Regions from separate parts of the Homo sapiens genome. Here region 1 is linked to region 2. The links are contacts of gene promoters, found by promoter capture Hi-C in human tissues and cell types (Jung and others, 2019). All regions are on one chromosome and are shown on one strand. The core of a region is centred on a gene start or on the middle of the fragment in contact, and the rest is flanking DNA. Distances in the headings are between cores, read along the strand shown.

Evidence for each region. Contacts are between HindIII fragments. The study calls those that stand out against the background at their distance.
Region 1: a contact is called between a fragment that was not itself captured here and the fragment with the promoter of CD70 in region 2, in 1 of the 25 tissues and cell types used here (ovary).

Annotation. Positions count from the first base shown.
Region 1 is chr19:7,091,980-7,097,079 of GRCh38, forward strand. LOC124904625 (a long non-coding RNA gene) reads right to left here. Exons shown (of 3, transcript XR_007067110.1): 2 at 316-472. Among named protein-coding and RNA genes, the nearest start is that of ZNF557, 25 kb to the left of the region's middle. The HindIII fragment of the contact is 4,002 bases long and covers 1,529-5,100 here.
Region 2 is chr19:6,589,506-6,595,127 of GRCh38, forward strand. CD70 (CD70 molecule) reads right to left here and starts at 1,645. Exons shown (of 3, transcript NM_001252.5): 1 at 1,336-1,645; 2 at 598-631. The coding sequence starts at 1,497. It also overlaps the pseudogene RPL7P50. RefSeq lists enhancers at 545-914, 1,415-1,814, 2,885-3,344, 3,365-3,464. The HindIII fragment of the contact is 16,779 bases long and covers 1,035-5,622 here.

The sequences.
Region 1 (5,100 bases), core at 2,280-4,779, 500 kb after region 2:
GACTTTAAGGCAATAATTTTCTTAGAAAAGGTGTAGGGCGTGGATTCTGGGATTAGCAGGCGATTGGTGGGAGGAAAGGTCTGTTAAGTCCTCAGGCAGGTGCAATGATCTCTTCATGCCTCCCCATGGGTTCCATGTGCAAAGTCATACTAACTCAAGGGAGTTTGTATGAAACACGTGGAAATTTGCACTGTGACATCAGCAAGCTCATTCTGCACAAACTCCATTTGGCCATGTGGGTTCTCACAGATTTTAGGCAGTTTTGTTACAAGTGGAGGCAGTTTCAGCGTTTTAGCAAGTTATTTCTTTTTTTACCTGCCATCCTGCAAACTCAATGAGAGGTGAAGCCAGCTGGACTTCCTGGGTCGAGTGGGGACTTGGAGAACTTTCCTGTTTTACAAGAGGATTGTAAAACACACCAATCAGCACTCTGTAGCTAGGATTGTAAACCGCACCAGTGAGCGCTCTGTAGCTAGCAAGAAGATTGTAAAATGCACCAATCAACAGTCTGTAAAACACACCAATCAGCAAGATCCTGAAAGCAGCCAATTGCAGGGAGGATTGAAAAAAGGGCACTCTGATAGGACAGAAACAGAACATGGGAGGGGTCAATAAGGGAATAAACGCTGGCCACTCCAGCCAGCAGCGGCAACCAGCTCGGGTCCCCTTCCAAGCTGTGGAAGCTTTGTTCTTTTGCTCTTCACAGTAATCCTTGCTACCGCTCACTCTTTGGGTCTGTGCCATCTTTAAGAGTGAAGGTCTGTGGCTTCTTTCTTGAAGTCAGCGAGACCACGAACCCACCAGAAGGAACCAGCTTCCAACACATCAAGAATTTCTGCTAGTCTTTGCTTTAACACTTTAGGCATGGTTTCAGTGGCATATTTCCCAGATTCTTCCTTTAAGACTAAGGCACTAAGGCCAGGCGTGGTGACTCACGCCTGTAATCCCAACACTTTGGGAGGCTGAGGCAGGTGGATCACGAGGTCAAGAGATCAAGACCATCCTGGCCAACATGGTGCAACCCCGTCTCTACTAAAACTACAAAAATTAGCTGGGCGTACCTGTAATCCCAGCACTTTGGGAGGCCAAGGCCGGCGGATCACGAGGTCAGGAGATAGAGACCATCCTGGCTAACACGGTGAAACCCCATCTCTACTAAAAATACAAAAAATTAGCCAGGCATGGTGGCGGGCACCTGTAGTCCCAGCTACTCGAGAGGCTGAGGCAGGAGAGTGGCGTGAACCTGGAAGGCGGAGCTTGCAGTGAGCCGAGATGGCGCCACTGCACTCCAGCCTGGGCGACAAAGACTCCATCTCAAAAAAAAAAAAAAAAATTAGCTGGGCGTGGTGGCGTGTGCCTGTAGTCCCAGCTACTCAGGAGGCTGAGGCTGGAGAATCGCTTGAACCTGGGAGGCGGAGGTTGCAGTGAGCCAAGATCTTGCCACTGCACGCCAGCCTGGTGACAAAGCAAGACTCCATCTAGAAAAAAGAAAAGACTAAGGCACTCCCCTAGCTGCTGGAGGTGTTGCCTGATGATGGTGATGCTGCTGTCCTCTCTGGGAACTCCCCAAGGCCCAGAGGAAAGTGCCCAACCCAAGATTATGCTCTCTCTCCAGGGGTTGCCTACTTCCAGTGACTGGTTGATGTAGGGGGTACAAAGGTCCAGTGCCTTTGTTTCAATGTAGGACACCCCTGAAGGGCAACCCCAGCACCAGAACTCCCTGTGGGATCGACGGCAGCCTCAGTTGACAAGTTACATGTCAGCCTCATCTGTCCCCTCCGCTTCTCGCATGCCTTTAAAGATGTTGTTCCCAGGAGTTTTATCCAATAAACAAAAAATTGCCAGCACAAAATCTGTTCCCAGAAAACCTGATCCGAGATAAGATCACTCTATCAGGGTAAAGAATCCATTCAGGGCCGGTCTCAGGAGATCGAGACCATCCTGGCTAACACAGTGAAACCCTGTCTGTACTAAAAATACAAAAAATTAGCCGGGCGTGGTGGCGGGCGCCTGTAGTCCCAGCTACTCAGGAGGCTGAGGCAGGAGAATGGCGTGAACCCGGGAGGCAGAGCTTTCAGTGAGCCGAGATCGCGCCGCTGCACTCCAGCCTGGGCGACAGAGTGAGACTCCATCCCAAAAAAAAATAAAAATAAAAATCCATTCAGATAAGGGACTGGCAGAGAGAAAGCAGAATGTGGAATGGATGTGGAAGAATTAAATTCAGTCCTGAAGACCAGGTCCCAAAGCAGGAATAGAAGACAGCTATGCTTTGGGTTTGGGTTTTTTAAAAAATCTTTAATTTTTTCCGCTTTTTCCCTGGTTCCCCACCACCACCATCACCATTTTATATGAAGAGTCCTGGTTGTGGCCAAAGCTTAAGGTTTCTGATGGGAATACGACCAAATGACATTATCCCAACAGTAGCTTCCTTTGTATCTCTTTTTTTTTTTTTTTTTTTTTGAGATGGAGTCTCACTCTGTCACACAGGCTGGAGTGCAATGGTGCCATCTCTGCTCACTACAACCTCCGCCTCCTGGATTCAAGCGACTCTCCTGCTTCAGCCTCCCGAGTAGCTGGGACTACAGGCACACGCCAGCACACCCGGCTAATTTTTGTATTTTTAGTAGAGATGGGGTTTCACTATGTTGGCCAGGCTGGTCTTGAATTCTTGACCTTGTGATCCGCCCACCTCGGCCTCCCAAAGTGCTAGGATTACAGGCGGGAGCCACCGCGCCCGGCCCCCTTTGTATCTTATGTAGGGACATGAACTTAGCGCCAAGTGAAGGACAAGAATTGATATCCAAAATCCAATAGATTTTTCTTTTAAATACCTGAAAGTGAAACTGGCCCAATTTTCCCATATTGCTGATGTTTATGGTTTCCTTGAATAAACAAACAAATTGATCTTCCCAATCTTAAAACTTAAGAAAGTTACATTTATCTTATCTGAGTTCCTTTCTCAGGAAACCAACCATCAGGCCTCCCAGATAGTATCTAGGAGCTGAAACGCACCAGAATACTGCATTTGTACAGTGAGACATCAGACCCATCACCCATCATGATTGCCTAACTGACCACCTGCTTCCTGTTGACCAACTCCTCTTCCTTACCCTTCCCTAATTCCTGTATTCCCACACATGGTAACATTTCTTCCCTGCTATATAAACCTCAAATTTTAGTTGGTCAGGGAGATGGATTTGAGATTGTTCTCCCACCTCCTCAGCTGCAGCAGCTGATTAAAGCCTTCTTCCTTGGCAATACTCATTGTCTCAGCGATAGGCTTTCTGTGCAGTGGTGAGCAGCAGGACCTAGATTGAACCCCTGGTGTTTCAGCAACAACATAGTTCATCACCAGCAGAACTGCACTTCAAGAAACACTAAAGAAAGTTTTGGGCCAGACACGGTGGCTCACACCTGTAATCCCAGCATTTTGGGAGGCTGAGGCAGGTGGATCACCTGAGGTCAGGAGTTCGAGACAAGGCTGGCCAACATGGCAAAACCCCATCTCTGCTAAAACTACAAAAAAAAAAAAAAATTAGCTGGGCGTAGTGGCGGTCGCCTATAATCCCAGCTACTTGGGAGGCTGAGGCAGGAGAATTGCTTGAACCCAGGAGGTGGAGGTTGCAGTGAGCTGAGATCGCACCGTTGCTTTCCAGCCTGGGCGATGGAGCGAGACTCTGTCTCAAAAAAAAAAAAGAAGGAAGGAGGGAGGGAGGGAAGGAAGGAAGGAAGGAAGGAGAAGGAAAGAAAGAAGGAAAGTTTTGGGGCTGGAGGAAAATTATTCCATGTGGAAGCAATTCCAGAAATATATAAGGATAATCAGGAAAGATAAAATGTGAGCAAATACAAATAAATATTGACTGTATAAATCAAGCCTGTATAGTTTTAACACTTTTATACGTCTAAATCTTTTTTTTTTTTTCAGACGGAGTCTCACTCTGTTGCCCACACTCACCTCACTGCAACTTCCGCCTCCTGGGTTCAAGCAATTCTCTTGCCTCAGCCTCCAAGTAGCTGCAACTACAGGTGTGCACCACCACGCCCAGCTAATTTTTGTATTTTTAGTAGAGATGGGGTTTCGCCATGGTGACCAGGCTGGTCTCAAACTCCTGACCTCAAGTGATCCATCTGCCTTGGCCTCCCAAAAGTGTTAGGATTATAGGCGTGAGCCAACGTGCCCAGCCCTAATTTTTTTTTTTTTTCAAATAAAAAGAGTTTTAAATCACATTGAACTGGTCCCTTAAAACTAGAGATAATAGAAAGCATGGCAAGCCATTTCCCAGTCCCCCTAAGACTAGAGATTATGGAAGCCCCAGCAAGTGATTCTCACAATCTGCATACAGCAGTAGAGCTGACAGAAGCCCTAGCAGGTAACCACCAGTCACCCTCAAAACAAGAGGCAACAGGATGCCAGATCTCCACCCCTCAATCACTTACAAACACAAAAGATGGAGTCCAAACATGAAGACCTCCGTCATCGCGAAACTACTCCAGCAAGCACCCCTCAGTCACGTCCAAAACTATAACAGAAGTCCCTGAAATGACCCCTTCAGATGCCCCTCAACACTAAAGAATGGGGACTCCAAGCCCAATGGCCTACCCAGTCTATACCAACAGTACAGGCAAGCGGAGACCCAGAATATGACCCTCCCCAACTAGAGATAAGTGGAACCCCATCCAATAATCCCTCCATCCTCTCCCCAAACAATACACAGTAAGGCCTCTATCTGATAAATGCTCTTGACCCTTCAACACTAGAAAAAAATGGAAGCCCCAGGCACTGGCCCTCCAGTTACCTCCAACATCAGAGACAATGAAAGCTTCGCCAAGTGATTCCCCGTATCGCTCCTACATTAATGATGGAAACTCCAAAAACCAATCAACCCTCAATCCTCTACACACTCAAGAAAGGAACTCCAGGCTGGGTATGGTGGCTCACGCCTGTAATCCCAGCACTTTGGGAGGCCAAGGCGGGTGGATCACGAGATCAGGAGTTCGAGACCAGCCTGACCAATATGGTGAAACCGTCTCTACTAAAAATACAAAAATTAGCCGGGCGTGGTGACACGTGCCTGTAGTCCTAGCTACTCAGGAGACTGA
Region 2 (5,622 bases), core at 395-2,894:
CGGCCTCCTGAGTAGCTGGGATTACAGGTGCCTGCCACCACACCCGGCTAATTTTTGTAATTTTAGTAGAGACGGGGTTTCACCATGTTGGCCAGGCTGGTCTCAAACTCCTGGGCTCAAGTGATCCACCCGCCGCGCCCTCCGAAAGCGCTGGGATTACAGGCTCCAGCAACCACGCCAGGTCGCCTCTCTCGTTTTTATTCTCTCTTCCTCTATCTGTCTTTTTTCTCTTTCTCCGTCTCTCTCCCTCTCTCTCGTTCTGTCTCCCCCGCCTGTCTCCCTCCCTCCCTCTTCCACTCTCCCTGCGTCTCTCCCTGTTTCTTTCTTTCCCCTTCTTCTCCTGTCCCGTCTGTCCCCTCTGTCCCTCTCTCTGTTCTTTTTTCTGTCTCTCCCTCCCTTTCTCTGGGCCTCTCCCTCCCTCTCTGTCTTCTCTCTGTCTCCCCCTCTCCGTTTCCCTCCCTATCTCTCCCTCCCTCTCTCCCTCCGTCTCTGTCTGTGTCTCTTTCTCTCTGTCTCTCCCCACTTGTCTTTCTACCTCTCCTTCCTTCTCTCTCTGTGCCTCTTCTTCTCCCCGTCCCTCCACGTCCCCCGTGTTACCTGTGTGATTCAGCTGCAGCTCAGCTACGTCCCACTGGAAGAAAAGACCAGAAAACAGGGCACGGACGTAAGCAGAGAGGTTCTATGTGTCCCCTGTGCCAGGAGCTCTCTTTTCTCTGTCCATCCTCCTTTCCACCTCTCATCCCACGGCGCGCACTGGTGATTTTATTTCATTTTATTTTTTTTTACTCTTAAGACTTCTTAAAGAGGAAGCAGGTCTGAACCAGCGGGGAACGTGAAGTCGAGACCTTCAAAAGAACTTCTTCGTTTCCCGAATCGTTTTCCTGGATGTCACTGGGCGCGAGAGCACCGCGCGCAGCGGACTCTCTACGCTGCAAAGGCGCCCGGCGCGGTCCCCAAAGGGACCCCTCCCCCACCCGGAGCGAGTGGCTGGGGCCATCCCGTCCTAGGAGGCCCCAGGAAGCCCCCACGCCCAGCCTTGTGAAGCCCCCAGCAGCCTCTGAGTCAGCCTGCCGGGGGAACACCAGAGCCGAGTCATCTTCCATTTCCATGTGTGCCTACCTTTCCCATCCCGGGATCTCCCTGTACCTCCTGGCAGGGCTGCCTGTCTCGTAGCCCCTACACCGGGCAGCCTGGTCCCCGCCTCGCCTCCCTGTTCTGGTCTCTGTCTCTGCCCTACCAGATCTTCCTCTCTGGCCTCTTTGTACCCATCTCATTCTGTCTTTTCGGTCACGCGCCTCTCTATGTTTTCTTCCCAACTTTTCCATCTCAACTCACCCCAAGTGACTCGAGCGGCAGCTGCTGCTGAGCCTGTGCGAAGCGCTGGATGCACACCACGAGGCAGATCACCAAGCCCGCGACCAATGGGACCAAAGCAGCCCGCAGGACGCACCCATAGGGCCTGCGCCGCACCGAGCAGCCCGAACCCTCCTCCGGCATCGCCGCGGCGATCACCTCCGCTAGCGCAGGAGGGGCGATGGGGGCGCGGAGCGCTGCCGAGAAGGAAGGAAGGAAACTGCAGCCCCCTCCCGGGGCTCCTGGGCGTCTACTTGCTTCAACCTGTCAGGGGACCAGCCTGCCCCTCTCTGGGGATGTCCGGCCGGTCGAGGGGAGGGACTTGAGCAATTGGCGAGGGGAAATTCCCTCCAACCGCTGCCAGTCTGAAGATCCTAAAGTGGGTGGAGGCAGTTGCCAGGATGCAGGCAGTGGCCCCGGGTGAGCCTCAGAGTTGCCTGCCCCCAACCCCTCCCCGCCCGACCTTCAGGCAGGAGACATTCAATCTTCCTATTCCCCTCTCCACCTCATTCTTCTGGGGCCCATTCATTTATTCAACAAACCTCCACTGCACATTTATTAGGGATTAGATTGTGCTGTGCACTGGGGATACAGCAGACATCCAAGAATTGGGGGTGCTCCCCAAATATTCGTGTACCCCTCTCCTGCATTTTTTTGATTTGTTTTGTTTTTGAGACGGAGGTCTCCCTCTGTCACCCAGGCTGGAGTGCAGTGGCGCCATCTCAGCTCGCCGCAACCTCGATCTCCTGGGTTCAAGCGATTCTCCTGTCTGAGCCTCGCGAGTAGCTGGGAGTAACATGCGCGCGCCACCATGCCTGGCTAATTTTTTGTATTTTTAGTAGAGATGGGGTTTCACCATGTTGGCCAGGCTGGACTTGAACTCCTGACCTTGGGTGATCCACCCGCCTTGGCCTTCCAAAGTGCTGGGATTAAAGGCATGAGACACTGCACCCGGTCAGTTATCTCCTGCATTCTTGGAGACCACCTGCTTTTTTGTTTAAAGTTAAATTAAGTTAATATTTTTATTTTTTATTTTTATTTTATTTTATTATTTATTTTTTTTTTTTTTGAGACAGAGTCTCGCTCTGTCGCCCAGGCTGGAGTGCAGTGGCGCCATCTCGGCTCACTGCAAGCTCCGCCTCCCGGGTTCACGCCATTCTCCTGCCTCAGCCTCTCAAGTAGCTGGGACTACAGGCGCCCGCCACCACGCCCGGCTAACTTTTTGTATTTTTAGTAGAGATGGGTTTTCACCATGTTAGCGAGGATGGTCTCCATCTCCTGACCTCGTGATCTGCCCGCCTTGGCCTCCCAAAGTGCTGGGATTACAGGCGTGAGCCGCCGCGCCCGGCCTAAATTAATATTTTTAGAGACAGAGTGTTGCTCTGTTGCCCAGGCTGGATGCAGTGGCGCCACACAGCTCACAGCAGCCTCAAACTCCTGGGCTTCAGTGACCCTCCCATCTCAGCCTTTTGCATAGTTGGGTCTACCAGCACACGCTACCATGCCCGGCTAATTTTTTTTTTGGGGGGGGTAGAGGATAGGGTGTTACTATGTTACCAGGCTGGTCTCAAACATCTGGGCTCAAGCGATCCTGCTGCGTAGGTCCCCCAAAGTGCCGGGATGACAGGTGTGAGCCACCGCATCCAGCCTCCTGCTGCTGTTCTCGATGGCTGTAGTGGGTTAACGGTGTCCTCCCAGAATTCATGGCCTCCTGGAACTGCAGAATATGACCTCATTTTGAAATTACGGGGTTTTTTTTGCAGATATAATTAGGCTTAAATGAGGTCATACTGGATTAGAGTGGGCCCTCAGGTGGAGAGAAAAGAGGCTCATAGAGAAGGAGCCGTGTGAAAACAGAAACAGAAACTGAATGAGGCAGATGAAAGTCAAGAAACACCAAGAAGGAGCCAGGCGCAGTGGCTCACGCCTGTAATCCCAGCACTTTGGGAGGCTGAGGCAGGCGGATCACTTGATATCAGGAGTTTGAGACCCTCCTGGCTAACACGGTGAAACCCCCGTCTCTACTAAAAATACAAAAAATTAGCCGGGCATGGTGGCGGGCGCCTGTAGTCCCAGCTACTCAGGAGGCTGAGGCAGGAGAATGGCGTGAACCCGGGAGGTGGAGCTTGCAGTGAGCCGAGATCACGCCACTGAACTCCAGCCTGGGTGACAGAGTGAGACTCCGTCTCAAAAAAAAAAAAAAAAGAGTTGGAGACCAGCCTGGCCAACATGGTGGAACCCCATCTCTACTAAAAATTCAAAAAATAGCTGGGTGTGGTGGTGGGCACCTTTAATCCCAGCTACTCAGGAAGCTGAGGCAGGAGAATCGCTCAAACCCGGGAGGCAGAGGTTGCAGTGAGCCGAGATCACACCATTGCACTCCAGCCTGGGTGACAGAGCGAGACTCTGTCTTAAAAATATATATATTTTTTAAAAAGAGGATCCAGCCTCTTTTTCCGGCTGGAACCATGGAGGGTGTAGAAGAGAAGAAGAAGGAAGTTCCCGCTGTGCCAGAAACCCCTAAGAAAAAGCGAAGGAATTTCACAGAGCTGAAGACCAAGCGCCTGAGAAAGAAGTTTGCCCAAAAGATGCTTCGAAAGGCAAGGAGGAAGCTTATCTATGAAAAATTGAAGCACTATCACAAGGAATATAGGCAGAGGTACAGAACTGAAATTCGAATGGAAAAGATGTCAAGAAAAGCTGGCAACTTCTATGAACCTGCAGAATCCAGACTGGCGTTTGTCATCAGGATCAGAGGTATCGATGGTGTGAGCCCAAAGGTCCGAAATGTGTTGCAGCTTCTTTGCCTTTGTCAAATCTTCAATGGAACCTTTGTGAAGGCCAATTAACATGCTGAGGATTGTAGAGCCATACATTGCATGCGGGTACCTAAATCTGAAGTCAGTAAATAAACTAATCTACAAGCGTGGTTATGGCAAAATCAATAAGAAACGAATTGCTTTGACAGATAACGCTTTGCACGATCTCTTGGAAAATATGGCATCATCTGTATGGAGGATGTGATTCATGAGGTCCATACTGTTGGAAAACGCTTCAAAGAAGCACATAACTTCCTGTGGTCCTTCAAAGTATCTTCTCCATGAGGCAGAATGAAGAAACAGACCACCCATTTCGTGGAAGGTGGAGATGCTGGCAACAGGGAGGACCAGATCAACAGGCTTGTTAGAAGAATGAACTATGGTGTGTACTATAATTATTTTTCTAAGCTGTTCAATAAACATTACCTGCTCTCAAATGGAAAGAAAAATATGTCTGTATATACATACAGTTAGGGTCCCAAGGGCCTCTGGCTATGAATCATCAAGAAGTCAGTGTCATCAGCAGCAAACTCACAGCCAACAGCGCTAGAACTCGTGCCTGGGGATAGCTTCTCTAACACGTGGATTTCCTCCTCTGTGAGGCTCATCACGGCCTCCTTGCTCTTGGGGGACATTAGACAGGGCTTCAGCACTATTTGGGGGCTGTTTGAAACAGCAAAATTACCAACAAAAAGCAAAAAATTGAAAGGAGATAAAAATGGGAGATTTCAGAGCCTGAGCCTATAGCATTTGCTGGGTGGGTGAAGAGGGTGGTCAAAGAGGTCCAGAATTTTGAGGTATCCAGAAATCAAAATATCCTCCCTGAGATCCCCAAGTACTAAAGGGATTTCCTTCACGGAAGCCCTAGGACTCCAGGTCTGGGGGAAGCGGGTAGACAGCACCTTCAAGACAATCTCCTACCTTAATTTATTTAATATTTACTTAGCTGATCTTTTTATCAGCTTAAGATATAAATAGTTTAGATTCATATCATTAAGAAATAACTAATACCTTCTAAAAGATGGGGGAAAGAGAGATGGGGTGGGGTGGCTCATACATGTAATCTCAGCACTTTGGGAGGCCGAGGTGTCTTAGGAAAATCCCAAAATGAGACAGGAGCAGCCAACTCATAAAAATAAATACAACTGCTTGGCCGGGCGCAGTGGCTCACACCTGTAATCTCAGCACTTTGGGAGGCCGAGGCGGGCGGATCACAAGGTCAGGAGTTCAAGCCCAGCCTGGCCAATATGGTGAAACCCCGTCTCTACTAAAAATACAAAAATTAGCTGGGCGTGGTGGCGGACACCTGTAGTCCCAGCTATCTCGGGAGGCTGAGTCAGGAGAATCGCCTGAACCCGGGAGGCGGAGGTTGTCGTGAGCTGAGATCTGGCCACTGCACTCCAGCCTGAGAGACAGAGAGAGAGTCTGTCTTAAAAAAATAAATAAATAA